Linked DNA regions of Homo sapiens: regions 1, 2 and 3 are each linked to region 4. Evidence: promoter capture Hi-C in 16 types of primary human blood cells and fetal thymus (Javierre and others, 2016). All regions are on one chromosome and are shown on one strand. Each heading gives the region's core, a stretch centred on a gene start or on the middle of the fragment in contact. The rest is flanking DNA. Distances are from core to core; before and after follow the strand shown.

Region 1 (7,399 bases), core at 1,671-4,170, 470 kb after region 4:
TTACAGAAATTCATAATATTAAATTATTTAAAATGTTTTACCTAGGCTTTAACTCAAAAACTCCACAAGAAATACTCAAAGAAGCATTTAAAGAGTTAACAAGAATACTCATTGAAGCAGTATTTACAGTATAAAACATTGGAAATAACCAAAATTTTCAACAATGGTAGATATGATAAATAGATCATCATAGTTGTCCTTGATAGGATTCTATACAATTATTTAAAATGTTGTCATATAAGAGCGGGGTGTGGTGGCTCACACCTGTAATCCCAGCACTTTGGGAGGCCGAGGTGGGAGGATCACTAAACGAGGTCAGGAGTTCCAGACCTGCCTGGCCAACATGGTGAAACCCTGTCGCTACTAAAAATACAAAAATTAGCCAGGTGTGGTCCCGAGCACCTGTAATCCCAGCTACTCAGGAAGCCAAGGCAGGAGAATCTCTTGAACCCGGGAGGCAGAGGTTGCAGTGAGCCGAGATTGTGCCACTGCACTCAGCCTGGGTGACAGAGCAAGACTCTGTCTCAAATAAATAAATAAATAGTCATATAAGATTTACTTGTATCTGAAAATCATAAGTAAAAAAACAGGCTTCACAAAAGCTGATAGAAAATAATCCCATTTTGATAAACAATACACATAAATAGAAAAAGAATAAAGGATATATACACACCAAATGTTCATGGTGAGTGATAATGGTGGCATTATGAATGGACAGGCTTTTCTTCTTTGGTCTTTTCTATATTTTTCAAAGTTTTTTGTATTGAACATAAATGAGTTTTATTATCAGGAAAGGCTAAATAAATACAAGTATTTTTAAAATAATTAAAAGAAAGCTCCCCTTTATAGAAAATATGGACCGTGATCTGCTCATCTTTATGGAATAATGTCACCTAATTAATGTATAAGAAATAGCACTTTCTTATACATACTGCACCTCCCATTTTATTTTATTAATTTTTTTTTAGTCAGGGTCTTGCTCTGTTGCCCAGGCTGGAGCACAGTGGTGTGATCACAGCTCATTACAGCCTTGACCTCCTGGGCTCAGTCTATCCTCCCACCTAAGCCTCCTGAGTAGCTGGGACTACAGGTGCACATCACCATGCCTGGCTAATTTTTTTTTTTTTTTTTTTAGTAGAGATGGGGTTTGTCATGTTGCCCGGGCTAGTCTTGATGCCCTGGGCTCAAGTGATCTGCCCACCTTAGGTTCCCAAAGTGCTGAGATTGCAGGCTTGAGTCACTGTGCCCAGCCACTCTCTATTTTAATAATTGATTCTGAAAAGAAAAGAATCATCTATGGATGCTAAAATAGTTGGGTGAAAGTTAACTGGAGAATAGGATACTTACGCAGTCTCAAATTATTACACAACAGATTACATACTAATTACAAAGAGGAAAATATACCTTTACAATGGAGAGAAATGGCAGTCACCTCTTTAATCGAAAGATCAAAACTGTCAGTATCCAAAACGAGACAACACAATGTTTCCTCAATATAAGCAAATAAGAACTACACATTTCCTACATAACATTCTTGAGAAAGATGTTTATCTCGGATCTCATTATAAGGAAATTAGAAAGTGAGGCATTTTCTAACACAACAGTCCTCTACTCTTCAAAATGTCCATGTCATGAAAAACAAACAATGGTGGTGGGACAGTTTTAGATAAAAATAACTAAGGAGATATGAGAACCAAATAAATAAATGAACCTTGATTGAATTCTGGATTTACCAAAGCTGTAAAACACATTCGAGTACAACTGAGAAAATCTAAATATTGGCTGGATATTAGATAGAATTAAAGAATTATTTTTAATTTTCATAGATGTAATAATGCTGATGATTAAGAAGAAAATCTTTGTTCTTCAGAGAATGCTGCTGAAATATTTAAGAACAAAGTATCATAATGTCTGCACTTACTCCCAAATGTCTCATTAAAAATATACAAATAGGCCGGGTGCAGTGGCTCATGCCTGTAATCCCAGCACTTTGGGAGGCCAAGGTGGGCCAATCACTTGAGGTCAGGAGTTTGAGACCAGGCTGGCCAACATGGTGAAACCCCGTCTCTACTAATAATACAAAAATTAGCCAGGCATGGTGGTGGGTGCCTGTAATTCCAGCTACTCGGGAGGCTGAGGCAGGAGAATCACTTGAACCCAGGAGGCGGAGGATGCAGTGAGTAGAGATCGCACCACTGCACTCCAGTCTGGGTGACAGAGTGAGACTCTGTCTCAAAAAAGGAAAGAAAAAAGCAAATATAAAGTAAATGAGGCAAAATTTTAATAATAAGTGAATATAGGTGAGAGATGTACAAGTAGGTGTTCATTGTGCTACTATTTTGACACTTGTAGACTCAAAAATTTGCAAAATTAAAAGTTGGGACAAAAGTACTTGACAAATCATAAAGTACTCAAAAACAATGGCACTATGATTAGTAGCAACAATGAAAGTATTTAGAGAAAAAGAAACTTTTCTTACCATGTGTGGACAGTACAGAGAAACAGGTTGGTTTAGTTTTATATGAATTGTAATATTTCCTTCTTCCCCTAGAGACAGGATATTTGAGTTTTCACCCACAATCTGAAATTAGGTAACCATTAAAGGGATTTTCCTTACAAACCATTTGTGCTCTTCCTACCAGATCTAAACACAGGATCTAAACTTAAGCCTTACTACCCCCATTCAATATTCCAGGAAAGTGCTTGGTCAGTGTACCTAGAAACTGGGCAACCTAAGAGGGGTGTGGTTGGGTGGTGAGTGTGAGGGTGCCAGAGCTGGAAACATTTGGGTTTGCATGTCCACTCTGACACCTTCTGACTTTGAGAAGCTTGGATGCTTCTCTGAACCTCAGTTTCCTCATCTAGAAAAGCAGAGATTTAAAAATGCACCTACTGTATAGCTTTATTGTGAGGATGAAATAAGGTGATACAGGTAAGGGCTCCAGTGCCTGGTTAGTACAAAGTTTTAAGAAACCAGCATCTCGGGAAGGCCTTTCCAACCAGGAAGCTTAATTAGTCATCAAATGTTTAAGAAAATAAATATAAAAAACATGAAATTTTAAAAACAGATTTGGCAGTTTTATAACAGTATAGGAGGTGGTGTTATTTTTTCCTTTCAAGGATTGGAAGGCAGGTTGGGAGCAAATAAAAAAAAAATTTGAAAATAATGAGTTATTTCAGCTGAGTGGCTTCTTTATTGACTAAAATAGAGGATATGACCGTGAAGTAATGTGACATGAGTTAAAAAGTGGACTGAGATGCTACCTCAATTTTGAGGCCACAACCTTCCAGGTTATCACCTTGGAAAGCAATCTTCATACTCATCTTGAATTTATTATCCTTGCTGAATACTTTGAAACTTTTATATAGGAAGCACCAGCTCTAAGGATCAGAAGGTGCTCAGAGATAGTAGATCTTCATACTTTGATGGCAAACTTTAGACTTTAGGGAAAAAAGTGGCATTTAGTACTAAGTCTAGTAAATTAGATAAATTATCTGGAGAATACAATTTTAAATGAGATTTTTAAAAACTGATTCTATTTTCAATGAAATTGTTCTATGAATTTTATTTTTTGATTGTTTATTGATATTATATAGACATACAGTTGATATAATTTTTATATATTGATCTTATATCCTGCAACTTTGATGAACTCAATTATTAGCTCTAATAGTGTGTGTATGTGTTTGTATGTATGTATTCCTCAGGATTTTCTATATACATTGTGATGTTATCTGTTGAATAGAGATAGTTTTACTTTTTCTTTTCCAATTTGGATGCTATTTCTTTTTCTTGCCTAAATGCCCTGGATAGAACACCTCTATGTTGAATAGAAGTGGCAAGAGTGAATATTCTTGTAAGTCCTGATCTCAATGGGAGCACTTTCAGTCTTTAACTGTTGAGTATGATGTGAGCTGTGGGGTTTCTGTATATGTCCTTTAACAGGTTGAGAAAGTTCCCTTTCATTGCTAGTTTGTTGAGGGTTGTTACCATAAATAGGTGTTAAATTTTGTCAATGATTTTTCTGCATCTACTCAGATGATCAGGTGATTTATGTCCTTTGTTTTACTAATATGGTATATTAATTGGTTTTCATAGTTTGAACCAATTTTGTATTTCTGGTATAATCCCACGTGGTTGTGAAATATATTCCATTTATATGTTCCTTGTTAGGTGGGCTAGTATGTTTTTGAATTTTTTTGCACCTATAGTCATAAGGAATATTAATTTGTGGTTTTCTTTTCTTGTGATGTCTTTGGTTTTGGTGTCAAGATAATCGTGGCTCATACTATGACCCCATTTTGAGGCCCAGCCTCCAAAATCCTGGTCTTACATATTTTTTGGAGAATTTGTGAAGGATTAATGTTAATGCTTCCTTAAATGTTGGATGGAATTCACCATGAAGCCATCTGGGCCTGGCCTTTTCTCTGTGGGAAGTTGTGTGTGTGCACACGTGTGTGTTGGATGGGGAATGTAAGAAATTAAGTTACAATACTTCATTTTGACAAATTGAAAAATTAAAAACCTATTCATCACCTCCAAAAAGTTTCCTTCCACCCTCTGACTTTATTATTATTATTATTTTGGTAATAAGAACACTTAAAATATCTCCTTAGCAAGATTTTAAGAATATAATACAGTATTGTTAACTGTTGGCATTATGCTGTACAGTAGATCTCTAGCAGTTATTCTCTGTGTAGCTGAAATTTTGTACCCTTTGATGAATACCTTCCTGTTTTCTCCTCCCCACCAGCTCCTGGCAACCACCAATTCACTTTCTGGATCTATGAGTTAAACTTTTTTTTTTTTTAAGACAGAATCTTGCTCTGTCACCCAAGCTGGAGTGCAGTGGCGCAATCTCGACTCACTGCAACCTCCGCCTCCCAGGTTCAAGCGATTCTCCTGCCTCAGCCCCCCAAGTAGCTGGAATTACAGTCGTGTGCCACCACGCCAAGCTAATTTTTGTATTTTTAGAGATCTGGAGTTTTACCATGTTGGTCAGTCTGGTCCCAAACACCTGGCCTCAAGTGATCCAAACGTTGGCCGGCCAAACTGCTGGGATTACAGGTGTGAGCCACCTCACCCGGCCAAAATTGTTTTCTTAATTTCCTTTTTGGACAATTTATTGTAGTGTATAGAAACACAACTGATTTTGGTACATCGATATTGTATCCTGAAACTTTGTTAAATTTGTTTATCCTAAGTTTTTTTGGTAAATCTTTAGAATTTTCTATATATCATATATAGAAATATAATTTTCTGCACATCTATAAGATCATGTAATCTGCAAACAGAGATAATTTTACTTCTTCCTTTCTGATTTGAATACTTTTTATTTTCTTTTCTTGTCTACTTACTCTGGCTAGGACTTCTAATTCTATGTTGGATAGAAGTGGTGAGAATGTACATCATTTCCTTGTTCCAGATCTGAGAGAAAACGCTTTCAGTTTGTGACCGTTGAGTATGATGTTAGCTGTGTGCTTTTTATATATGGCCTTTATTTTGTCAAGGTAAATTCCTTCTATACCTAATTTGTTGAGAGTTGTTATCATCAAAGGGTGTTGAATCTTGTGGAATGCTTTTGCTGTATCTTTTGAGATTATCAAGTCATCTTTGTCCCTCATTCTGGTAGAAAGCATGTGTGAAGCCATTTGGGTCTGGGCTTTTCTTTGTTGGAAGGCTTTTTGTTTTTTGTTTTTTGGGGTTTTGTTTGTTTGTTTGTTTTTTGAGATGGAGTCTTGCTCTGTCACCCAGGCTGCAGTGCAGTGGCACAATCTCACTCACTGCAACCTCCACCTCCCGGGTTCAAGCGATCCTCCTGCCTCAGCCAGCCAAGTAGCTGGAATTACAGGTGCGTGCCATCACACCCAGCTAATTTTTGTATTTTTAGTAGACACAGGGTTTCACCATGTTGGCCAGGCTGGTCTCAAACTCCTGACCTCAAACGATCCACCAGCCTTGGCCTGCCAAATGCTGGGATTACAGGCGTGAGCCACCACACCCGCTGGAAGGTTTTTGATTACTAATTTAATCTCCTTATTTGTTATTGGTCTGTTCAGACTTTTTAATTCTTCATAATTCAGTCTTGGTAGGTTGTATGCTTTCAGGACTTTATTTTCTCTAAGTTGTCCATTTTGTTGACGTATAATTATTCTAGGGATTCTTCACATTTCTGTGGCAGGAGTTGCAGTGTCTCCTCTTTCACTCCTGATTTTCTTTCTTTGAGTATTTTTCTCTTTTACTTTTCATAGTTATAGGGTTTGTTGATTTTGTGGAAAGAGTTTTTTCTAAGAAAATCCTAAAGAACATTTTATTTTTTATTTTTTGTTCATACTTTAGTATGCAATGAACATTTTAATTTTTTCTTATTTTTTGAGAGGAAAATTATATGCTCATTTTATTCATGACTCTAAATGCAAAGGTTCAAACAAACAAAAATTAAGAAATTTTACCCAAGAAAATAAAATCAGGAAAGAAATGCAATGCAAATTTAACATTTGAAAATATTTTTAAATTAACTCTAACAGGTTAGTCGAGAAAAACTATTTTATCTTTTCAACAGAATCGGAAAACTCATTTAATATAATGTAATACCTATTCATGATTATTGGAAAAAACAAACATATAAACCGCAACAAATTAGGCTAACTTCCACACTCTGTTAAATAATATATAGTAAAAATGGATATGCAAACAAAAAACAAACAATAGAACTCTACAATAAACATCTTTAAAAAATTGGGTCAATTTCGGAATGATACAATAGTTAAAGTAAATACTAATGTTTGTCTCATTCAGGTTGAGAACTTACTATTTCCTTTTGACCAATGTATAAAAAAAGGCAAGATACACATGAAGGCAAAGGACTATCTTAAAATGAATAATGGTAATTTTATAACTGCTGCTAATTTGAGCCTGCTTTTATGTAATAAAATGCTAGACACTAACATTTGCCTTACCATCTTAGTATTGCTACCTATGCCTGTACTGTGAATTCAGCAACACCATTCCCAAATACACTACAGTGTTTATAATCAACACCTGAGCAGCTGACCAGCGGCTAAGACTTCCCACTTTAGTGTATTTTTAGTTCAAGTACAGAACCCTTATTATGGTACATTCAAAATAGTTGTCTTTATTTTGCTCATATCTTTCTAATAGCAAATATGTTTTTCTTTACTTTCTCCATGTTTGAAACTTGAACTACATTAAAGGGATATTCTGCAAAATTGTCAGCATCTCTTTCCCTCATTCCTGTGTCTAGGCTCTTTATTCTAAAAGGACATTGAGGGGAAAATAAAAGCAATAATGTGAGATTACCCTTGGGGTGCATTTAGAGAATGTTGGACTTTCCTTGTTGCCTACCTTTATGTTAGAAATTTAGATAAAAAACCGTAA
Region 2 (6,735 bases), core at 399-2,898, 500 kb after region 4:
TGTAGAATGCAGACCTCCTTCAACTTGATCCTAGGTTTCCCATCCCATTCTCAGGACCCTTCAGTCTCAATCCATCCAAACTTCCAAAACCAAGGTCACCCTCCTACTGGGACTTAGGTTACTGTAATTCCTCATCCTAGGAACCCCTCATACTCACTCAGACAAGAGAGATCCCAGGATACGCTTGCTGGGGCCCAGTCCTGCCCCACCAGCCCCTTCTTCAGCAGGTGTCACCAGATGGGCATAGGCTGGTGTGTACCGCAGCCAGTCTCGTAGGGTTTCACAGGCCTGTCGCTGCAGGGACTCGTTGGTGAAGCTCACAGCCAGCGCCATCAGTGCTGTCTGGTTATCTGGCTTTAGCTCCAGACACCTGTTTGATCAGGGATGGGCAGACTTGATATCTGCAATGACTGACACTGGCACATGTGAGCACCCTGGGATCCAAGCCAAGCTTTGAAATGCAGAGTCACAATGGCCTCACCTGTGACTCCTCTGACATGAGTTAATAATAAAGTTACAGATCTAAGGGGAAGGTTTTAGCAGGCAAGGAGCCAACCAAAGCCGCAAATAAAATCAAAAGCCGATGAAGGAATGGAATTCACTCCAACCCTCAGAGTTTCAGCATGAGAAAACACTCTTGATAGCACTCAGAAAGAAGACAAGGATCCAGGTCTGGGCTTCTGTCATTCAAAAGGTTATATGCAGAGCCTTGGAAGCACCTCACCCACACCTTTCAGTGTACTCACCTCCGCAATGCACTGATGGCTAATAGTTCTTGTTCATTCTCTGCCTGGGTGGTACCCAGATACTGCCAAGCCTAGAGGGAAGTTGACAGATTCCATCACCCCATATTCACCTCTCCATTCGCCCTTCCCCCTGGCTTCTCCCACTCACCATCTCGCTCTCAAGCCCCTATCCTAGGCCATCACCCAGGCCCTAACCCATCTGCACTACTCTCCTTGGGGCCTTTCTCAAGATGGAGGAAGCAGTCTCTAGCCAGAAATGAGACTATGGAGTCACTCACTTCCATGTGCTTAGGATCCTGCTGCACAGCTGCCTCAAAAAGCAGCACAGCATTTGGCAGGTCCCCCTCCTGAAGGCGCCGCAGCCCTTCTTCAAAAGGCTGAGGGTGATCACGCAAGGGGTTCTCCTCCTCAAACTGGTACCCCTACAAGAAAAGCACGTGAGAGATGGACTGAGAGGTGGCACCGTCAGAACAGCAGGGATGTGAGGATGACAACCAGCAGGCAGAGAAGCTGAGGGCCTCCAAACAGGTTCCGGAATTAATTGCTGGCAAATTCTCCATATTATAAAGATCATGTATGACACAAGTAAAATCATTTGGTATCAGGTTTGTGCTCCCATCTCCTGTTCATGATACCTGGGAAGCTAGGAAAGTCTACAAATTCATCTGCGCTGGAAATAAGCTTATTTTAGGAAGTCATCACAGGCTTGTATTCCCACACCTTGACTTCTCACCACGGGGCAGAATGTCTCAACAGGATCTGCTTATAGTAATGAGACAAAGTGTCCCTAGCTATGCAAAGTGCATTTCTTGTTATCCTTCAATAATGTGATGATGTATAAAGGAAATGTTGTTTGGAGTCCTGCTATTCAAATATAACTCTTACTTAGCTCAGAGTCATTCCACATGTCAACTAGATAAAACATTTTCAAGCATTTTGAAAATGTTAATTTATTCCCCGATTTCATTCTTAATAATCATGAATATTAATCTGTATCTGACAGTAAGCAAAAGCTGGATCCCAAAATCCAGATGGCAGAGAATACTTCAGAAAGACACCATTCTCTTCCAGCTGAGGATTTCTCACTTTAGAGAAGAGTTACGATACTATCTGCAAAGCTTTGTCAACTGGCATTTTACACTAGGCAGAGAAGAAATGAGGTAAAGGGGAAGTCACTAGTAAGCTGCAAAATCTGGGACATGCAAATAAAAAGTCCGTTTTTGGAGAGTAGTTACCATCATAAAATAATACACCAGAACGAAAACAAGATGCAAAACAACAGGTGGAGGTCTTTCTAAATGCAGTTAAGAATAAATTCAGATAAAACTGTACAAAATAAAGACATGAGGCCCTTTTTCATTATTATTGTGAAAATGATAAAGAATCAAAAACACTTAAATCTTACCAGCAAAATTCTAAGTCATGATCAGATGCAAATTATTTGTCACAAATGAAAATTAAATAATTACAATGGGGGGTTTAAGAAGAAAGACATATTATAGTAGATTTGAGATAAATGTATAGAAAGTATATTTATATTGAAAACAAGTGTGTTTTTGGACATCTCTGCATAATATAAAAACTAAGAAGGCAGAAAATGACGCTAGTCCAGTGATCAGCAAACTTTTTCTGCGAAGGGCCAGATAATAAATATTTCAGGCTTCGTGGATCTGCTGCAACTACTCACCTCTACTGTTGTAGTGCGAAAGCAGCCAGACATAAGTAAACAAATGAGCACGGCTGTCTTCCAATAACATTTTATTTATGGACACTAAAATTTGAATTTTATATAATTTTCACTTGTCACAAAGTATTACTCTTTTGATTTTCTCCAACCATTTAAAAATGTTAAAACCATCCTCAGCTAGTGGATCACTAAAAACATAAAGATTTATCCCACAAGCCAGTGTGCTGGCCCTTGCCCTAGACTATTACAGTTCAATAAAATAAATCCTTCTGCATTCAACCTCAACTATTGTTCATCATTAATACGTGTTTTAAGCCACTCTACAGAAAACAGAGATTACTGTCATCTATAATGCAGTTTCCTAATAAAAGTAATTCCTGCCTCTCAGAGCCATTGAGAACATCAAATGGGAATCTTCACCAACGCCTTACCAAAAAGCTTAAGATACTATCTGTAAATAGCTATTATCCTCACTGCTCTAGATACTTCCTTAAGATATGATGGCCTGTATATGACAGCCAGAAGTGATGCGAATGCTCTTCAGGTGTCTTCATTAGATAATACAACAACTCAATGCCACCATCTTGCAACCACAGGATTCTCTAAGTTTCCTCTCATCCATATTATCTACCCTCCTTGAAGTCTCATCAATTGCTGATCAAAGAGGAATTTTCCAAAATTAGAATATTTGCATAGATGATGGAAAAAGAGTACTCTGGGGGATCCCTCAACAACCCACAGAACACAGGATAAGCTTGGCTTCACTGTTACATCCTGAAAAGCCAAACCCAAGTCATTAATTTTATCTGATACACGGTCTGGTCTGCTCCAAAATCTCATAGGATCAAACTGCAGAAATGATCACTACAAAGAGTTTGTCCCATCACATACTTCTCTTTTATCATAATAGTATATTAATATCTGCCTGAGCTGCAATGTAAATTGTCTCTGAAAATATAAGGGCTATCAATAAACAAACAGTGCATTCAAAGAGATCCATGAATTTATGTAACAATCAAGAGTCAAGTCCTTTGTTTTTAAAAAGTTCTATTGACATGGAATTCAATATTAGCTTAAAGCCAGATACTGTCTAATTGCTTACTACATCACTTTTTGAGGAACATTAATGCAAGTATTTCTAGTCCTAATTTTGCAATATCCCAAAGTATCAATGATATCAAGTAGGGCTCAAGAATCTACAAACATACTTTTAAAGTTTTTAATTAAAAAATGTATTCTGGATATGACACCAAAAGCTCATATCCCAAAAATCATTGCAAAGACTAATGTCAAGAAACTTTCTCCCTATGTTTTCTTCTAGGCATTTTACGGTTTTGGGTACTGCATTTGGGTCTTTAAGCCATTTTGGATTAAGTTTTGTACATAGTGTGAGGTAACGGTTCAGTTTCACTCTTTTGCACATGGATATGCAGTTTCTCCAATACCATTTATCGAAAAGACTATCCTTTCCACATTTCTATTCTTGGAACCTGATCAAATGTGATTTTTTTTCTAAAAAAAAATTTGCTTTCTAATTTGTCACATTGTTCTATGTGTCTGAAAAAAAAAAATGTATTCTGGCCAGCATGTCATAAATACGAGAGTAATAAATGATAAAAGAAAATGCTGCTCATACAAAACTAGTATTATGTCTATATGTATGAAAAGCATGGACATTTTTACATAAATGTACAACTTTCCATTTATAAGTTGATGGGGCCTATGTGACTTATCAAATTGTTAATACAAAATAATAACAAAAGTGTTATCTATATTTCCTTCAGTTCTTCCTTATCAAAATTATATACAATGAACTCATAGTCTAGTGAAATACATGGCAAGGTCCCAGCTGTCTTTTCCCTTATATCACACAGGATAGTTAGAAAAATCCAGATCAGACTGGAATAATAAGCAAAATCATATTTTTCCTAATACTGTTCTTCACTGGCTCTCAAACTCTAGCCTTTTTCTGAACTGCATCTTCCCATCTTTGCATAGCTCCCTTATTACATCAAGATCCATCTCCAGCACCCTGGTTTGCATCTCAGGCCCTGGTTCCAGCCCCACAATACTTTCCCAACCAGATCTGAACTGAGAAAAAGACATCACTACTCACATCCCCAGTTCCTGTTTTGCCTTTTTTCAAAACCAAGTGATTCTTTCCCCTCTTCATGTTTCAACTCAGGAGCTCAGTTATTAAACACATCCCCAAATATCCTACAACCCACAGGTAGATTTGTTTTTCAGTAAGACCCCAGAAGTAACATATGCTTCTAAGTCAACAGCACATGCTATAGGCAAAATGCAATCATCTTTCATACTACTAAGAAATTTCCCTAATATTTAAGTTATCTAATATAAATTCTTTGAAAACCCTAAATTAGGGCAAGTGGCTACTACCTATAAAAGATAAGAACTTAAAATGAATATGTGAGTTTAAAAAGTAAACAGATATTAAGATGTGGAGGCAAAGGGATAGTCTGTCCACTAACACTCCCCACCAAAGGAGTCAGCAGTCTTCTCAAAAAGCTCCCAATCTGACCTCCAAGCAGAGCTACTTCCTCTGTGCTTTTAATGCAGCAAGCATGTGCAAACCTCCTTCACAGGTGTTATGTACTGGACTGTCGTTATTGACAAAGATAGTCTCATTAACATCTATATCCCAAGAATAAAGTTTATACTCAATCACTGAAGAGGAAGGGCAAGGGAATTATTCAGACTTCTTTTCGTGGAAAGGGACTCAAGAAAATACTTAAAAGCACCCTTCAAATTCAGGATTAAAGGAAAGACGTTAAAAAGAAGGAAGTTCTGGAACCTGAAAAACTAAGAGTTTTTACCTCACCTTATCATAGGTAGCTGACGTAAGGTCATCATAGTCAGAAAGCCAGGGGTGGGCCTCAGCATCCCGTTTTGCCATCTCCTCCAACTCTGCCTGCAACTTGTCCCAGAAATCGACATCAGACTGTAAGGAAGGGAAAGCAGATAGAAAAAGGAGATCCATCATGACCACCCCACCCCACACTCAGCTCTGCTGGGATTCTCTAAGGCAGCAGTTCTTGAATTTCAATATGTTTAAGAATCATCTGAATAAGTTTTTTAAAATGCAAATGGCCAGATGCTATCCCCAGATACTGATTTAGTAGTCTGGGGTGATGGCCAGAAATGTAATGTAGTGCAGTGCAGTGCAGTGCAGTGCAGTGCAGTGCAGTGCATAGTTTAGTTTAGTTTTTTGTTTGAGACAGAGTTTCACTCTCGTTGCCCAGGCTAGAGTGCAATGGCGTGATCTCATCTCGTTGCAACCTCCACCTCCCAGTTTCAAACATTTCTCCTGCCTCAGCCTCCCAAGTAGCTGGGATTACAGGCATGCGCCAACACACCACGCTAATTTTGTATTTTTAGTAGAGACATGGGGTTTCTCCATGTTGTTCAGACTGGTCTCGAACTCCTAACCTCAGGTGATCCACCCACCTCGGGCTCCCAAAGTGCTGAGATTACAGGCATGAGCCACCATGCCTGGCCCAGAAATCTGCATTTTTCAACAGCACCCACCCCATCCCCAAGCAACTCTGACACAGATGATCCAGGTCCACTATGAAATACAATTTGCATCATCTTTGATGTTCATACACCCACTCACTCCAAGGAGTGTTTTCTTTTGGGGTGTCTGCTCCTGCACTATCTGCTCTCACCTCTATAGCTGACTTGGCTCGTTCAAACTCCATATCAAGGGCAGATGTGTTTACTGGTCTTGTGAACTGGTCAACCCAGGCATCTGATGTACCCTGCGACAAAAAAGGATGGTCAGTACCACTACCACCAACTTTCTATCCATCAGACGCACACTAAATACCCACTAACCACCACCAACCTGGGTACTTCTGAGAAAATCATTCTCAGAATCTCTTTCCCACCCACTTGGGACCTGGATGCTATCAAGACAAGCTGGTCTTATCCTTCCCCATCTGGGACCACTGACCACTGAACCCATGGCCTGGGGCATCAGCTGGCTCTGAAGTGGGACTGGAAAGTGACAATGTCCTACCTGCTGCTGTATAAACTCTGCTGCCCACTGTTCTGCCTGAGCTCGGCCCGACCCTGCACCGGACTCCAGGGACACCTGCCCTTCGCCAATCTGCCGCACGAATTTCAGGAACTGGGGCACAGAGACACACACAGGCCACTTGGGAAAGGACTTCCAGGTGTGCACTCTCAACCATGCCCAAGAGGACCCTGTACTCACCCCTCCCCTGACCATCTCTAGCTGCAGACAAGATATGCTAAAGACCCTAAAAGAGGTAGAGA
Region 3 (7,107 bases), core at 864-3,363, 450 kb after region 4:
GGGCAGGTCATTTAACCTCTTTGAACCTCAGTTTCCTCATTAATGAAGTGAGGACACTAATAGTTTCTCAAAAAACTATTTTTTGAGTTCCTGTCTCAAAAAACTGTCATAAAAGAAAGTGAGAAAATATAGGTAAAATTACCTCCTCCTTGCAGAAGCCATCAGCAACAACTTCCTCAACTTGGAGTCTTTCCCTTTCACTCATTTTTTCTCTTCTACATCCCACCTTCCCTGCGTCCAGGGTCAGGAGGAGGGTGTTCTGGATCCCTCCTCTTTGTCTCTACAGTGGCCTCACCCATTTTTCCTTCTCTTTTCTCTTCCAGCTTCTCTGTTACTGACCCTTTCTCACAAGCAGTCAAACACGCTGACATTGTTCCTCTATTTTAAAAGCCAATACCTCACTCTTGGTCTCCTGTTGCTTATATTAATATTTCTCTCCAGATAAAGTTTTTTGTTGTTGTTGTTGTTTTTGTTTGTTTGTTTGTTTGAGATAGGGTCTTTCTCTGTCACCTAGGCTGGAGTGCAGTAGCCCGATCACAGCTCACTTTAGCATTAAACTCCGGAGCTCAAACAATCCTACTGCCTTGGCCTCCAGAGTAGCTGGAACACAGGTGCGTGTCACCATGCCTGGCTAATTTTTTATTTTTTGTAAAGATGATGTATCGCTATGTTGCCCATGCTGGCAGGTTAAGTTCTCAACAGAAAAGTTCACTTTAATTGAGGCTTTTACAGACTTTTCTTCTAGACACCCCTCCACATACTACATTGGCCTCCTGCCCCAACTTCTCTCCTGAAGCTGCCTTTGCCATAATCATAGGGACCCTCTGGGTGCCACATTCAGTTGTTCATTATACATATTGATCTCTTAACAGCATTTGAAACTACTAACCATTCCTTCTTATAACTTTCTCTTTCCTTGGTTTTTATCATATCATTCTCTTCTGCCATTCCTTTTACCTGTCTAACTGTTCCTGCTTCATCTCTTTCTTGGACTCTTCTTCTTAAATATTGGCATTGCAAGGGCTTCACCTTTAGCCTGCTGTTCTTCTGGAACTATATTCTGTGCCTGAGTGACCTCATTCATGTTCATAAATTCAATCACCATTTATACACTGAAGATTTCCCAAGTTCATCTCTCATTTAAACAACTCTTTTGAGAATTAAACCCATTTCTCCAACTATTTCCTGGTATTTCCTGGACATCTTCACCCAAATGTTCAATGAGCGCCTCAAAAAATCAAGAACATAACAATTCTTGAACATATTCCCCTGTTCCCAGAATATAAGTTCAGGAAAATAGGAACTCTTACCAATATTTTTTATTGCTATATCCCTAGAGCTTATAATATTGTCAGACACATATTAAGTGCTCAGTTAATATTGGTTAAATGAATGGAAATTTTCCCCACCAACCTGTTCTTCCCTCTGTATAGCATTAATATTTGCTCAATTATAGCAACATGGTTTCTTGTCATCTCTTTTTTCCTTAATCCTTATATCCCATTGGTTTTCTATGTTCTGTGTATTCAACCTGCTCAATCTAAAGTCCATTTCTTCTCCTACATTCTCACTGATATTTTTCAGGCATTTATAATCTCTCCTTTTGTATCCTCACTGTTCTTATTCATATGATGGGGATAATAATAGGACTTTTCTCATAGGACAGTCATAAGCTTCAGTGAAGTAATATACCCAAACTCTTAGTATGGTGCTGGGATGACTCAGTAAATTTGGCGAGACAGCTGTATTTCTTATGTATCTATATGGATCTCTACAAATACATCTACATGTAGTAAGAGGACAGTCTAGTTAACCTCCATATTTTAGTGTAAGTCCTAACCCAGGAGAGAATGTATTGAACAGATAAATAAATTTGCTTTGTAATGTCAATCAAGTCATGTCCTTGTTGGCCTTCAGATTATTCATTTATTAATTCAGTTAACTAGACTAGCTAGGATCATTTTATAGCATTTTCATATTACAAAGCACGTTCATAGCCATTAACTCATCTTATTTCCATGGCTATTATTCATCTTATTTCCATAGCATTTATTATCATTAGCACCCCAATTTTCAGGTGAAATAACTGAGGCTTAGGATATTAGTTGTCCATAACCCGTCCACTACTTGTTAAAAGCAGAATCAGGATTTGAACCCAGTCTTCTAATGCTAAGTCCTATTGTTCTAAATATTCAGGTGAAAATATATGCATTTTATTTTCGTGTTTCAGGAAGTTGTTTGTGGTCTCTTATTGCACTGTTTTTTCTTGAGTCAGTTGGTGTTGAAGGATGGAACTTAGTGGTAGAAGCCACTCTAGAGCCCTAGTTCCTTTAGCTTACAGAAGAAAAAGAAACAATAAAAATCCATTTCCTTTAGAGGTTGTGAAATCAGAGGAAAAAGCCACCTCATCCCACACCCCAGTTGTAGTCAAGAGCCAGACTTTGCTGAGGCATTTTGGCAGATTGAACCCTTTGTCTGTGTTGACATAGATGCTGAGGGGAGCTTTCTTTATTATGAGATAAAGAGACAGGATCTGAGATTATAAAAGCTTTCACATGTCAGAAAAAGAACCAGTGGGAACAAGTTCATTCATGAAGCTGCCTTAAGGAACTGCAGGTGTTGAGGCACTGGGAGAGACATACACAAATGGATAGATTTCAGGTTTCCAGGACCTCCACCCAGTCACCATCATAAGTACTCATTTGGGGAATCCAGATTGTTCATTGCCTAGCCCAGTGGTTTTTCAAGTATGTTTTGTGGACCTTCAGAGTCAGAAGAATTTGGGGTATTTTCACTTGTTGCCCTATTTACATGATTTTTCTAAATCATTTGAAAGTAAGTTGCAGACATTATTTTCTTTTTTAAATTCTTCAGCATTCATCTTTAAAACATGAGGACATTCTCCCATATAGCCATAATAGGAGAATATTATGACCATCGAAGACATTCATAATTCCTAAATATCATTTATAACCATTCCACACTAAAAATTCCTCAATGGTCCCAAAATGTCTTTTATAGCTTTTTTAAAAGTCCAGGATTCAAGCACGTCTCCTGTAATGTAGAAGAATTCTCTTGCTTTTTTTACCCATGACATTGTCTTGAGAAGAATCCAGATCAGTTGTTGTCTTGATGAATATCTCACATACTGCCTGTGTATTTTTGTGTCCTTGTGGTCTCAATTAACTTGTTCAGGGAAACTGGCAGTCTACTACGCTGCTGAGAGTATAAATTGAGGTCATCTTCCTGGAGGGAAATGGGTAATATATTTTAAAACTTTCACAGACTTTAAATTAAGCTGGAGCCCGATTAGATTCAGGATAAACACTTCTAGCAGGACATTTCATAAATAATCCATGTATAACGCACTGCATCATCTTACTAGGCACATGATGTCAGATTGTCCCACTATTGATGATGTTAAATTTGTTCACTTGGTTCAGATGGTGTCAGCCACACTTTGCAAGTGTAACTTTCACCTAGAGGACATAGCATCCAGTTATGATCCTTATCTAAATCAATCATTGGAGATTGCAAAATGTTGATTTCCAAATTCTGTTATTCTTTCTACTTTTACTAACCAGAGTTTTCCTCAAAAAGGAATTTTTCTCCCTCCACCCTTTCATCCCCCAACCCACCCTGAGCATCATGGTAGACTCGGAATTTTAAAGATTCTATGGTTTTTTTTTAACCATTGCCTTGATTATATTCCTTTTTCTTTCTTTTTTTTAATTATACTTTAAGTTTCAGGGTACATGTGCACATGGTGCAGGTTAGTTACATACGTATACATGTGCCATGCTGGTGCGCTGCACCCACTAACTCGTCATCTAGCATTAGGTATATCTCCCAATGCTATCCCTCCCCGTTCCCCCAACCCCACCACAGTCCCCAGAGTGTGATATTCCCCATCCTGTGTCCATGTGATCTCATTGTTCAATTCCCACCTATAAGTGAGAATATGCGGTGTTTGGTTTTTTGTTCTTGCTATAGTTTACGGAGAATGATGATTTCCAATTTCATCCATGTCCCTACAAAGGACATGAACTTATCATTTTTTATGGCTGCATAGTATTCCATGGTGTATATGTGCCACATTTTCTTAATCCAGTCTATCGTTGTTGGACATTTGGGTTGGTTGCAAGTCTTTGCTATTGTGAATAGTGCCGCAATAAACTTACGTGTGCATGTGTCTTTATAGCAGCATGATTTATAGTCCTTTGGGAATATACCCAGTAATGGGATGGCTGGGTCAAATGGTATTTCTAGTTCTAGATCCCTGAGGAATCGCCACACTGACTTCCACAATGGCTGAACTAGTTTACAGTCCCACCAACAGTGTAAAAGTGTTCCTATTTCTCCACATTCTCTCCAGCACCTGTTGCTTCCTGACTTTTTAATGATTGCCATTCTAACTGGTGTGAGATGGTATCTCATTGTGGTTTTGATTTGCATTCTCTGATGGCCAGTGATGATGAGCATTTTTTCATGTGTCTTTTGGCTGCATAAATATCCTCTTTTGAGAAGTGTCTGTTCATATCCTTTGCCCACTTTTTGATGGGTTTTTTTTTTCTTGTAAATTTGTTTGAGTTCATTCTAGATTCTGGATATTGGCCCTTTGTCAGATGAGTAGGTTGCGAAAATTTTCTCCCATTTTGTAGGTTGCATGTTCACTCTGATGGTAGTTTCTTTTGCTGTGCAGAAGCTGTTTAATTTAATTAGATCCCATTTGTCAATTTTGTCTTTAGTTGCCATTGCTTTTGGTGTTTTAGACATGAAGTCCTTGCCCATACCTATGTCCTGAATGGTAATGCCTAGGTTTTCTTTTAGAGTTTTTATGGGTTTAGGTCTAACGTTTAAGTCTTTAATCCATCTTGAATTAATTTTTGTATAAGGTGTAAGGAAGGGATCCAGTTTCAGCTTTCTACATATGGCTAGCCAGTTTTTCCAGCACCATTTATTAAATAGGGAATCCTTTCCCCATTGCTTGTTTTTCTCAGGTTTGTCAAAGATCAGATGGTTGTAGATATGCAGCGTTATTTCTGAGGGCTCTGTTCTATTCCATTGATGTATATCTCTGTTTTGGTACCAGTACCATGCTGTTTTGGTTACCGTAGCCTTGTAGTATAGTTTGAAGTCAGGTAGCGTGATGCCTCCAGCTTTGTTCTTTTGGCTTAGGATTGACTTGGCGATGTGGGCTCTTTTTTGGTTCCATATGAACTTTAAAGTATTTTTTTCCAATTCTGTGAAGAAAGTCATTGGTAGCTTGAGGAGGATGGCATTGAATCTATAAATTACCTTGGGCAGTATGGCCATTTTCACAATATTGATTCTTCCTACCCATGAGCATGGAATGTTCTTCCATTTGTTTGTATCCTCTTTTATTACACTGAGCAGTGGTTTGTAGTTCTCCCTGAAGAGGTCCTTCACATCCCTTGTAAGTTGGATTCCTAGGTATTTTATTCTCTTTGAAGCAATTGTGAATGGGAGTTCACTCATGATTTGGCTCTCTGTTTGTCTGTTATTGGTGTATAAGAATGCTTGTGATTTTTATACATTGATTTTGTATCCTGAGACTTTGCTGAAGTTGCTTATCAGCTTAAGGAGATTTTGGGCTGAGACAGTGGGGTTTTCTAGATATATAATCATGTCGTCTGCAAACAGGAACAATTTGACTTCCTCTTTTCCTAATTGAATACCCTTTATTTCCTTCTCCTGCCTAATTGCCCTGGCCAGAACTTCCAACACTACGTTGAATAGGAGTGGTGAGAGAGGGCATCCCTGTCTTCTGCCAGTTTTCAAAGGGAATGCTTCCAGTTTTTGCCCATTCAGTATGATATTGGCTGTGGGTTTGTCATAGATAGCTCTTATTATTTTGAGATACGTCCCATCAATACCGAATTTATTGAGAGTTTTTAGCATGAAGGGTTGTTGAATTTTGTCAAAGGCCTTTTCTGCATCTATTGAGATAATCATGTGGTTTTTGTCTTTGGTTCTGTTTATATGCTGGATTACATTTATTGATTTGCGTATATTGAACCAGCCTTGCATCCCAGGGATGAAGCCCACTTGATCGTGGTGGATAAGCTTTTTGATGTGCTGCTGGATTCGTTTTGCCAGTATTTTATTGAGGATTTTTGCATCAATGTTCATCAAGGATATTGGTCTAAAATTCTCTTTTTTGGTTGTGTCTCTGCCAGGCTTTGGTATCAGGATGATGCTGGCCTCATAAAATGCGTTAGGGAGGATTTCCTCTTTTTCTATTGATTGGAATAGTTTCAGAAGGAATGGTACCAGTTCCTCCTTGTACCTCCGGTAGAATTCGGCTGTGAATCCATCTGGTCCTGGACTCTTTTTGGTTGGTAAGCTGTCGATTATTGCCACAATTTCAGATCCTGTTATTGGTCTATTCAGATATTCAACTTCTTCCTGGTTTAGTCTTGGGTGGATGTATGTGTCGAGGAATTTATCCATTTCTTTTAGATTTTCTAGTTTATTTGCGTAGAGGTGTTTGTAGTATTCTCTGACGGTAGTTTGTATTTCTGTGGGATTGGTGGTGATATCCCCGTTATCATTTTTTATTGCATCTATTTGATTCTTCTCTCTTTTTTTCTTTATTAGTCTTGCTGGCGGTCTATCAATTTTGTTGATCCTTTCAAAAAACCAGCTCCTGGATTCATTAATTTTTTGAAGGGTTTTTTGTGTCTCTATTTCCTTCAGTTCTGCTCTGACTTTAGTTATTTCTTGCCTTCTGCTAGCTTTTGAATGTGTTTGCTCTTGCTTTTCTAGTTCTTTTAATTGTGATGTTAGGGTGTGAATTTTGGATCTTTCCTGCTTTCTCTTGTGGGCATTTAGTGCTATAAATTTCCCTCTACACACTGCTTTGAATGCATCCCAGAGATTCTGGTATGTTGTGTCTTTGTTCTCGTTGGTTTCAAAGAACATCTTTATTTCTGCCTTCATTTCGTTATGTACCCAGTAGTCATTCAGGAGCAGGTTGTTCAGTTTCCATGTAGTTGAGCGGTGTTGAGTGAGTTTCTTAATCCTGAGTTCTAGTTTGATTGCACTGTGGTCTGAGAGGCAGTTTGTTATAATCTCTGTTCTTTT
Region 4 (6,732 bases), core at 3,869-6,368:
TAATCCTGTCAGGGTAAGTTCATCAGCTGCAAAGTGTGCAATTCTGGTGTGTGACGTTGACAGTAGAGGCGGCATGTGTGGGGTGTGGGGGAAAGGCTATGAACATAAAACTTCTCTGAAAAATAAAGAATAAAGAATATATTTTTAAAAACTACAAACATGAACTGACTTATCCAGAGTCCCTGGGGATTCAGAAAGTCCAAGCAAATTCCCTAATTCCCTATTCCGGCAAAAGGAAACAAACCAGATACCCATCCACATATATAGCCAAAAAAAAAAAAGGAAAATAAAAAGAAAAAAATTATACTTACCTTAACTCCCTTAGGCTCCTTGTTTGTTGGTCTTCTTTCATGCTTCATGGGAAAAAAATATGTTTATTGAAAACTATCAAGAAAAAGATTACTAATATTACACATCTATATAAGGGAGAGAAGCTAGGGAATTTGTTGAGACAGGGTCTTTCTCTGTTGCCCAGGCTGGATTGCAGTGGAGCAATCATGGCTCACTGCAGCCTTAACCCCCCAGGCTCAAGTGATCCAGCTGCCTCAGCCCTCAGCCACCCACCCCACAGCAGCTGGGACTTACAGGCACGCACCACTACACCCAGCTAATTAATTTTTTGTAGAGATGGCTGATTTTATTAATTTTTTATATTGCCTAGGCTGGTCTGGAACTCCTTGAGCTCAGGTGATCCTCCCACCTCAGCCTTCCAAAGTGCAGGGATTACAGACGTGAGCTGGGAGTCTTTTTTTGAGACGCTTGTTTTGTTCTTGTTGCCCAGGCTGGAGGGCAATGGCACAATCTCGGCACACTGCAACCTCCGCCTCCAGGGTTCAAGCAATTCTCTAGCCTCAGCCTCCCAAGTAGCTGAGATTGCAGGTGCCCACCACCAGGCCCAGCTAACTTTTTGTATTTTTAGTAGAGACAGGGTTTCACCATGTTGGCCAGGCTGGTTTCGAACTCCTGTCCTCAGGTGATCCACCTGCCTCAGCCTCCCGAAGTGCTCAGATTACAGGCCTCAGCCACCGCACCGGGCCTAGAGCTAGGGAGTCTTAATTAGGTCTTAATTTATGAGTGTCACTCTCCGGAATTGGACAGCCCCGGCCACATCACATCAACATACCGTACGAACTCCGCCGAGTAACATGTATCTCAATCTTGCCATCTTTTCTCTCTGCACAGACAGCAATGTTCTTACTCCTCTCCTGCTGTAAAGCCACTCATCTTCGATTTCCCTGAGGACTGCTGCTCCTACAGACTCTCGACGGAGTAAAGCTTCCGATAGAGGGGAAACAGATTCGCTACTAGCGTTGATAGTCAAGTTACTAAGGTTCTTTATCAACGTCTCGGAGGAGATTTGAGAGGCCCCTGAAAGAGAAGGTTAAAAGCCATTACATTAAGGGGATCTTCAACATTCACACATCAACTAGGTCTGCCCTTAAGCAGGGGAACAGGGCGCTGTGTGGGAAATTCCTCAGGGTGGAAGGTCACAGTAAACAACGCACAACCTCTAGTCTTTTCTCAAAAATCGCAAAGTTAGCCCAGCGCGGTGGCTCACGCCTGTAATCCCAGCACTTTGGGAGGCCGAGGCGGGCAGATCATAAGGTCAGGAGATCGAGACCATCCTGGCTAATACGGTGAAACCCCCTCTCTACTAAAAAATACAAAAAATTAGCCGGGCGTTGTGGCGGGCGCCTGTAGTCCCAGGTACTTGGGAGGCTGAGGCAGGAGAATGGTGTGAACCCAGGAGGTGGAGCTTGCAGTGAGCCGAGATCGCGCCACTGCACTCTAGTCTGGGGGACAGAGCAAGACTCCGTCTCAAAAAAATAAATAAATAAAAATAAAAATAGAAATAAAACTACAAAATTAGCCAGGCGTGGTGGTGGTGCATGCCTGTAATCCCAGCTACTCGGGAAGCTGAGGCAGGAGAATCGCTTGAATCCGGGAAGCGGAGGTTTGCAGTGACCTCAGGTTGCGCCACTGCACTCCAGCCTGGGCAACAAGAGCAAAACTCCGTCTCAAAAAAAAAGGAAAGTCAAGGCAGGAAGAAGTCACTTGTACAGGGGCACATGATAACACAGTTGACCCTTGAACAACACGGGTTTAAACTTTGGGTCCCACTTACGCGAGAATTTTTTCCAACCAATCACAAAATTCGAAATCCCCACACACACTGTTAACCTTTTTCACAAGGTTTCGCAGGGCCCACTGTGGCACTTGATCACTTACAGATTTTGGGGATGTCCTGGAACAATTCCCAGAGTATAACCGAGGGATGACTGTAATCCCTTGTTTTCTAGACTGTTATTATTATTATTATTAAGACGGAGTCTCGCTCTGCCTCCCAGGCTGGAGTGCAGTGGCGCCATCTCGGCTCACTGCAAGCTCCGCCTCCCGGGTTCACGCCATTCTCCTGCCTCAGCCTCCCGAGCAGCTGGGACTACAGGCGCCCACCACCATGCCCGGCTAATTTTTTTCTATTTTTTAGTAGAGAAGGGGTTTCACCGTGTTAGCCAGGATGGTAGACTGTTATTTTTTGAGACAGGGTCTTGCTCTGTCACCCAGGCTGGAGTGCAGTGGCACTATCATGGCTCATTGCAGCCTCTACCTCCCAGGCTCAAGGGATCCTCCCACCTCAGCGTCCAGAGTAGCTGGCGCTACAAGCGTGTCCCACACGCTGCCCTGAGCTAGCTTTGTTCACTTACACTTAAGAGATCCACTGAGTATCTCACAAGCATTACCTACCGTACATTCTGTGGAATCTTGTGAAAGAGACAAGAAAAACCCATATACTATTTTCTCCCAGAATCCTCATCCTTAAGCAAAACTGGGCAGTCGAAGTAAGTGGCTGTTACCCTCTCCAGTTAGCCCTAATTTAGTTGCCCAGCTCCTTCATGGTATTAGATCTCTTCACTCAAACTCTATTTTGGGAAATCAACCACTCATTCTCGTCTCTCCCATCCGAACTGTGAGGCGTATCCCATACATACGCATATCTCATACAATAAGAAGGTTATCGTTAACTGCCCGTGTATGTGTGTTTTGTTTTGTTTTTTGCCCCCTATATGTGAAAGTATTAAACAATATCAAAGTTCGAGATCGATTCTCAAAGTCTAGGGACCTGTGCACATAGAAACGAGGATCCTTTGTGGAACTGTGAGGTACTAAGGCAGACGCAAGGAAAGGGAGAGACTGGGGGTACGTTCATTTTTCTTTCCCACTCGGATATATAGACCAGCATTCTTTCTTCTGGACGCAGGGGACACAGCTAAGACCAGGCGCAGAGGGCGTCAGCGCGCCAGCGGCCCAGTTCCCAGACCTCCCAGCATCGGGCAGTCGAAGGTGTTGGCTCCAGGGTTTCTGCCGCCACCACCCTAGACACCCAGCCCCGCTGTCAGGGTCATAAATAAGACTTCAAACCACGTGGAGGGCCTCTGTGGCCAAGCCCGCGCTTGGGTGCTGCTGTAAGAAAGGAGTTCTCCACCGGAAGACCCGGCCTATCAGGGAGCAGAATTACCCAAGCAGTTTCTAGATAAGCCGCCCTCCGGTGGAGGTCCTGCTACTAATTTACATTACGGAGCACGTTTACGGCCTCTCCCTTCCATTTTCCCAGTGAAGCTGTTAGTCTGTTTATTAACATTTAGCTGGAAAGCCTGTCTCAAAAATGTTGGCTTAGAGCCCGGACTCGGTGGCGCACGCCTGCAGTCCCAGCTACGCAAGAGGATGGACTGAACCCAAGTGTTCGATACCAGCCTGGGCAACATGGAGAGACCCACTGTCAAAAATAAAAATAAAAATAAAAATAGGACGGGCGCGCTGGCTTACGCCTGTAATCCCAGCACTTTGGGAGGCAGAGGTGGGCGGATCACGACGTCAGGAGATCGAGACCAGTCTGGCCAACATAGTGAAACCCTGTCTCTACTAAAAATACAAAAGATTAGCCGGGCGTGGTGGCACATGCCTGTAATCCAGCTACTTTGGAGGCTGAGACAGGAGAATTGCTTGAACCCGAGAGGCGGAGGTTGCAGTGAGCCGACACCGCGCCACTGCACTCCAGCCCGGGCGACAGAGACTCCGTCTCAAAAAAATATATAAATAAAAATAATGTTGGCGAGAGATTAAGAAAAACTTTAGGTTCAACTGAAGTTAAAGTTTCTCATATTGTTTCATTTTTTTTCCCTATCTTTTGTTTATTTGGTCTCTGTATTTGTTCCTTTTTACCGTTCCTGACATGTATTTGCTGTTGGGGAAGATACTGATGCAACGACGCTACGAGCCGCGTTCTGTGATTCCAATTATTTATCCCCAGAAACTGGTCTTAGAAATCTGAAGTACTGGCCGGGCGCAGTGGCTCAAGCCTGTAATCCCAGTACTTTGGGAGGCCGAGGCGGGCGGATCACGAGGTAAGGAGATCAAGACCACCCTGGCTAACACGGTGAAACCCCGTCTCTACCAAAAATACAAAAAAAAAAACGGGCGCGGTGGCGGGCGCCTGTAGTCCCAGCTACTTGGGAGGCTGAGGCAGGAGAATGGCGTGAACCCAGGAGGCGGAACTTGGAGTGAGCCGAGATCGCGCCACTGCACTCCAGCCTGGGCGACAGAGCAAGACTCCGTCTCAAAAAAAAAAAAAGAAAAAAAAAGAAAGAAATCTGAAGTACTCCTAAGCATAGTGAATAAAATAATACATTTCTCACCACCACCATCACCGCTTTTAATAAAGTCTTTGACCTCTCTGTGTTGACTCCCTCTGGTTTGAGGTTTACCTAAATACATTCCTCTTGCAAAGACTGAAGTCAACATTAAAAAAAAAAAAAAAAAAAAAAAAAAAAAGACGGCAGCCTTTTGACCTCCCAACCCCCCTATAGTCAGATAGTCAAGAAGGGCATTATCTGGCTTACCTGAATCGTCCCGGGAATTTTCTTCGGTGAGCATTTGTGGAGACCCTGGGATGTAGGTTGGATTAAACTGTGATGGGTCCATCGGCGTCTTGACACAACACTAGGCTTCTCCAGGATCTTTGAAACGTAGCAGAAACTGATGACAGAGCCTCAAATTGCTACCAGGTAGCCCGGAAAGAGGCTGAAAACCGGAGCTCCAACGAATGGTCAAAGAACTGACGTAAACTATAGGTCCGGCTTCCTTTTAAAATACAGATAAGCCAATCTTCCAGGATATTTGAATGTTAATGATCCCATGATTAGAGGATTAAGGGATCCAAATGATTAAAGGTGAATGGGTGTAGTTTAGACTCATAGGGTAGTTCTTCATCTGCTTTGCATTAAAATAATCTGTCGGATGTCATATCTGCTAGAAAATTTATTAAAATCCTCTTTTTGTGGTTCTGTCTCCCTGAGGTTGCCTTACATATAAGTTGTTTTTTTCTTGTTTTTTTTTTTTTTTTTTTTTCCCAAACTCTACTCCTGGAGATGGCTTCTGTTTTGTGAACTGGGCTTAAGTGTTCTAGTGCAGAGGAGAATGGCAGTTTTTACCGCCCCCGCCCCACCACCACCACTGCCCATAAACTCCCAATTAAGCTGAGAAAGTTTCCTTTAAGTTTTCCTTGCTTCAATCATCTTAAACCTTTGCTGCTACTAAGAAGAGAGGAATAATGAAGAAGTATCTGTTATGAACACTTTCATAGCTTGATATTTTAGGGACATGTATTTTTTATTTGTTAATTTGCTTTATAAACTATAAACAGTACCTAACATTTCTGAGCAGCTGAAATTAACTAACCTTACAAATTGCTACTCCCTCCCCACAAAAAAATGCTTGTATTTGTAGCAAAGCACAACAACATTTAACCACTGATTGTCTGCAGGAGGTGGAAGAACAAGTCCCCAGCTGCCCCTCTCATCTTTTTCCCGTCTTATTCAAATACGCACGTTCCCCCATTCCCTCTCTAGGTGGAAACCACGAGAAAATACTCAAAGGCAACCTTGTTTGGGTTTGGTAAAAAGCAAAAATTGAAGTTATGATTAAGAAATATTTTCATAGAGAATGAGCAGCCATAGGCATAGATCATGTCCCAACACTTTATGCAAGTGATTCTCAAAAGTGTGGTCTCCAGGATCGCTTAATCACCCAGCAGTTAAAGGCTGCAGTGACCTATGATCGTGCCACTGCACTCCAGCCTGGTAGACAGGGCAGGACCCTGCCTCTTGGGAAAAAAAAAAAAGTGCAGTTTACAACAAGCACCTAGTTAACTTAGATATACAAATTCTGAGCTCCAAACCAGCCCTACTGAATCAAAGACTGGCGCCCAGTGGTAATGCTTTAACAAGCCTCCCAGGCAATTCTGCATTTAGCCAGAAGACCCAGAAGTGATCCCCAGGTGATTCTGATGGGTGCTCAAGTTAAGCAGCCCTGCTTTACGGCACTGTGAACTTTCTACTTCTGTTGTTCAGCTCTTGGCTAATCTCCCTCTTGCCTGGGGAATCTCTGATAATCAGTCCGCAAGAATTTCACTGGAGAGATAAATACAAAAAAATCCCATTGCAGGGGGTTTAGGATTAGGAGGTGAGATAACAAAAAGGGCTGAAATAGACTCTCATTTGTAAAAAACCTAGGCTGGGCACAGTGGCTCACGCCTGTAATCCCAGCACTTTGGGAGGCTAAGGCAGGTGGATTGCTTGAAGCCAGGAGTTCGGGACTAACCTGGCCAACATGGTGAAACACTGTCTCCACTAAAAATACAAAAATTAGGCCAGGCACAGTGGCTCACGCCTGTAA

Evidence for each region. Contacts are between HindIII fragments. The CHiCAGO score rates a contact against its expected background, and 5 or more counts as called.
Region 1: a contact is called between a fragment that was not itself captured here and the fragment with the promoter of DPPA3 in region 4, in 13 of 17 cell types (total CD4 T cells, non-activated CD4 T cells, naive B cells and 10 more). The highest score is 14.2, in total CD4 T cells.
Region 2: a fragment that was not itself captured here is called in contact with the fragment with the promoter of DPPA3 in region 4 in 6 of 17 cell types (M0 macrophages, M2 macrophages, total B cells and 3 more); the score reaches 7.9 in M0 macrophages.
Region 3: a contact is called between a fragment that was not itself captured here and the fragment with the promoter of DPPA3 in region 4, in 1 of 17 cell types (naive CD8 T cells). The highest score is 6.7, in naive CD8 T cells.

The regions. Positions count from the first base shown.
Region 1 is chr12:7,232,617-7,240,015 of GRCh38, reverse strand. It overlaps the pseudogene LOC100420983. Among named protein-coding and RNA genes, the nearest start is that of PEX5, 47 kb to the right of the region's middle. The HindIII fragment of the contact is 179 bases long and covers 2,831-3,009 here.
Region 2 is chr12:7,202,092-7,208,826 of GRCh38, reverse strand. It overlaps PEX5 (peroxisomal biogenesis factor 5), which reads right to left. Exons shown (of 16, transcript NM_001351132.2): 8 at 6,476-6,586; 9 at 6,123-6,215; 10 at 5,276-5,395; 11 at 1,025-1,168; 12 at 747-817; 13 at 158-370. Among named protein-coding and RNA genes, the nearest start is that of PEX5, 16 kb to the right of the region's middle. The HindIII fragment of the contact is 437 bases long and covers 1,430-1,866 here.
Region 3 is chr12:7,253,875-7,260,981 of GRCh38, reverse strand. No RefSeq gene overlaps it. Among named protein-coding and RNA genes, the nearest start is that of ACSM4, 47 kb to the left of the region's middle. RefSeq lists a silencer at 1,672-1,872. The HindIII fragment of the contact is 875 bases long and covers 1,676-2,550 here.
Region 4 is chr12:7,709,819-7,716,550 of GRCh38, reverse strand. It overlaps DPPA3 (developmental pluripotency associated 3), which reads right to left and starts at 5,118. Exons shown (of 4, transcript NM_199286.4): 1 at 4,899-5,118; 2 at 1,124-1,368; 3 at 312-353. The coding sequence starts at 4,980. The HindIII fragment of the contact is 13,723 bases long and covers 1,278-6,732 here.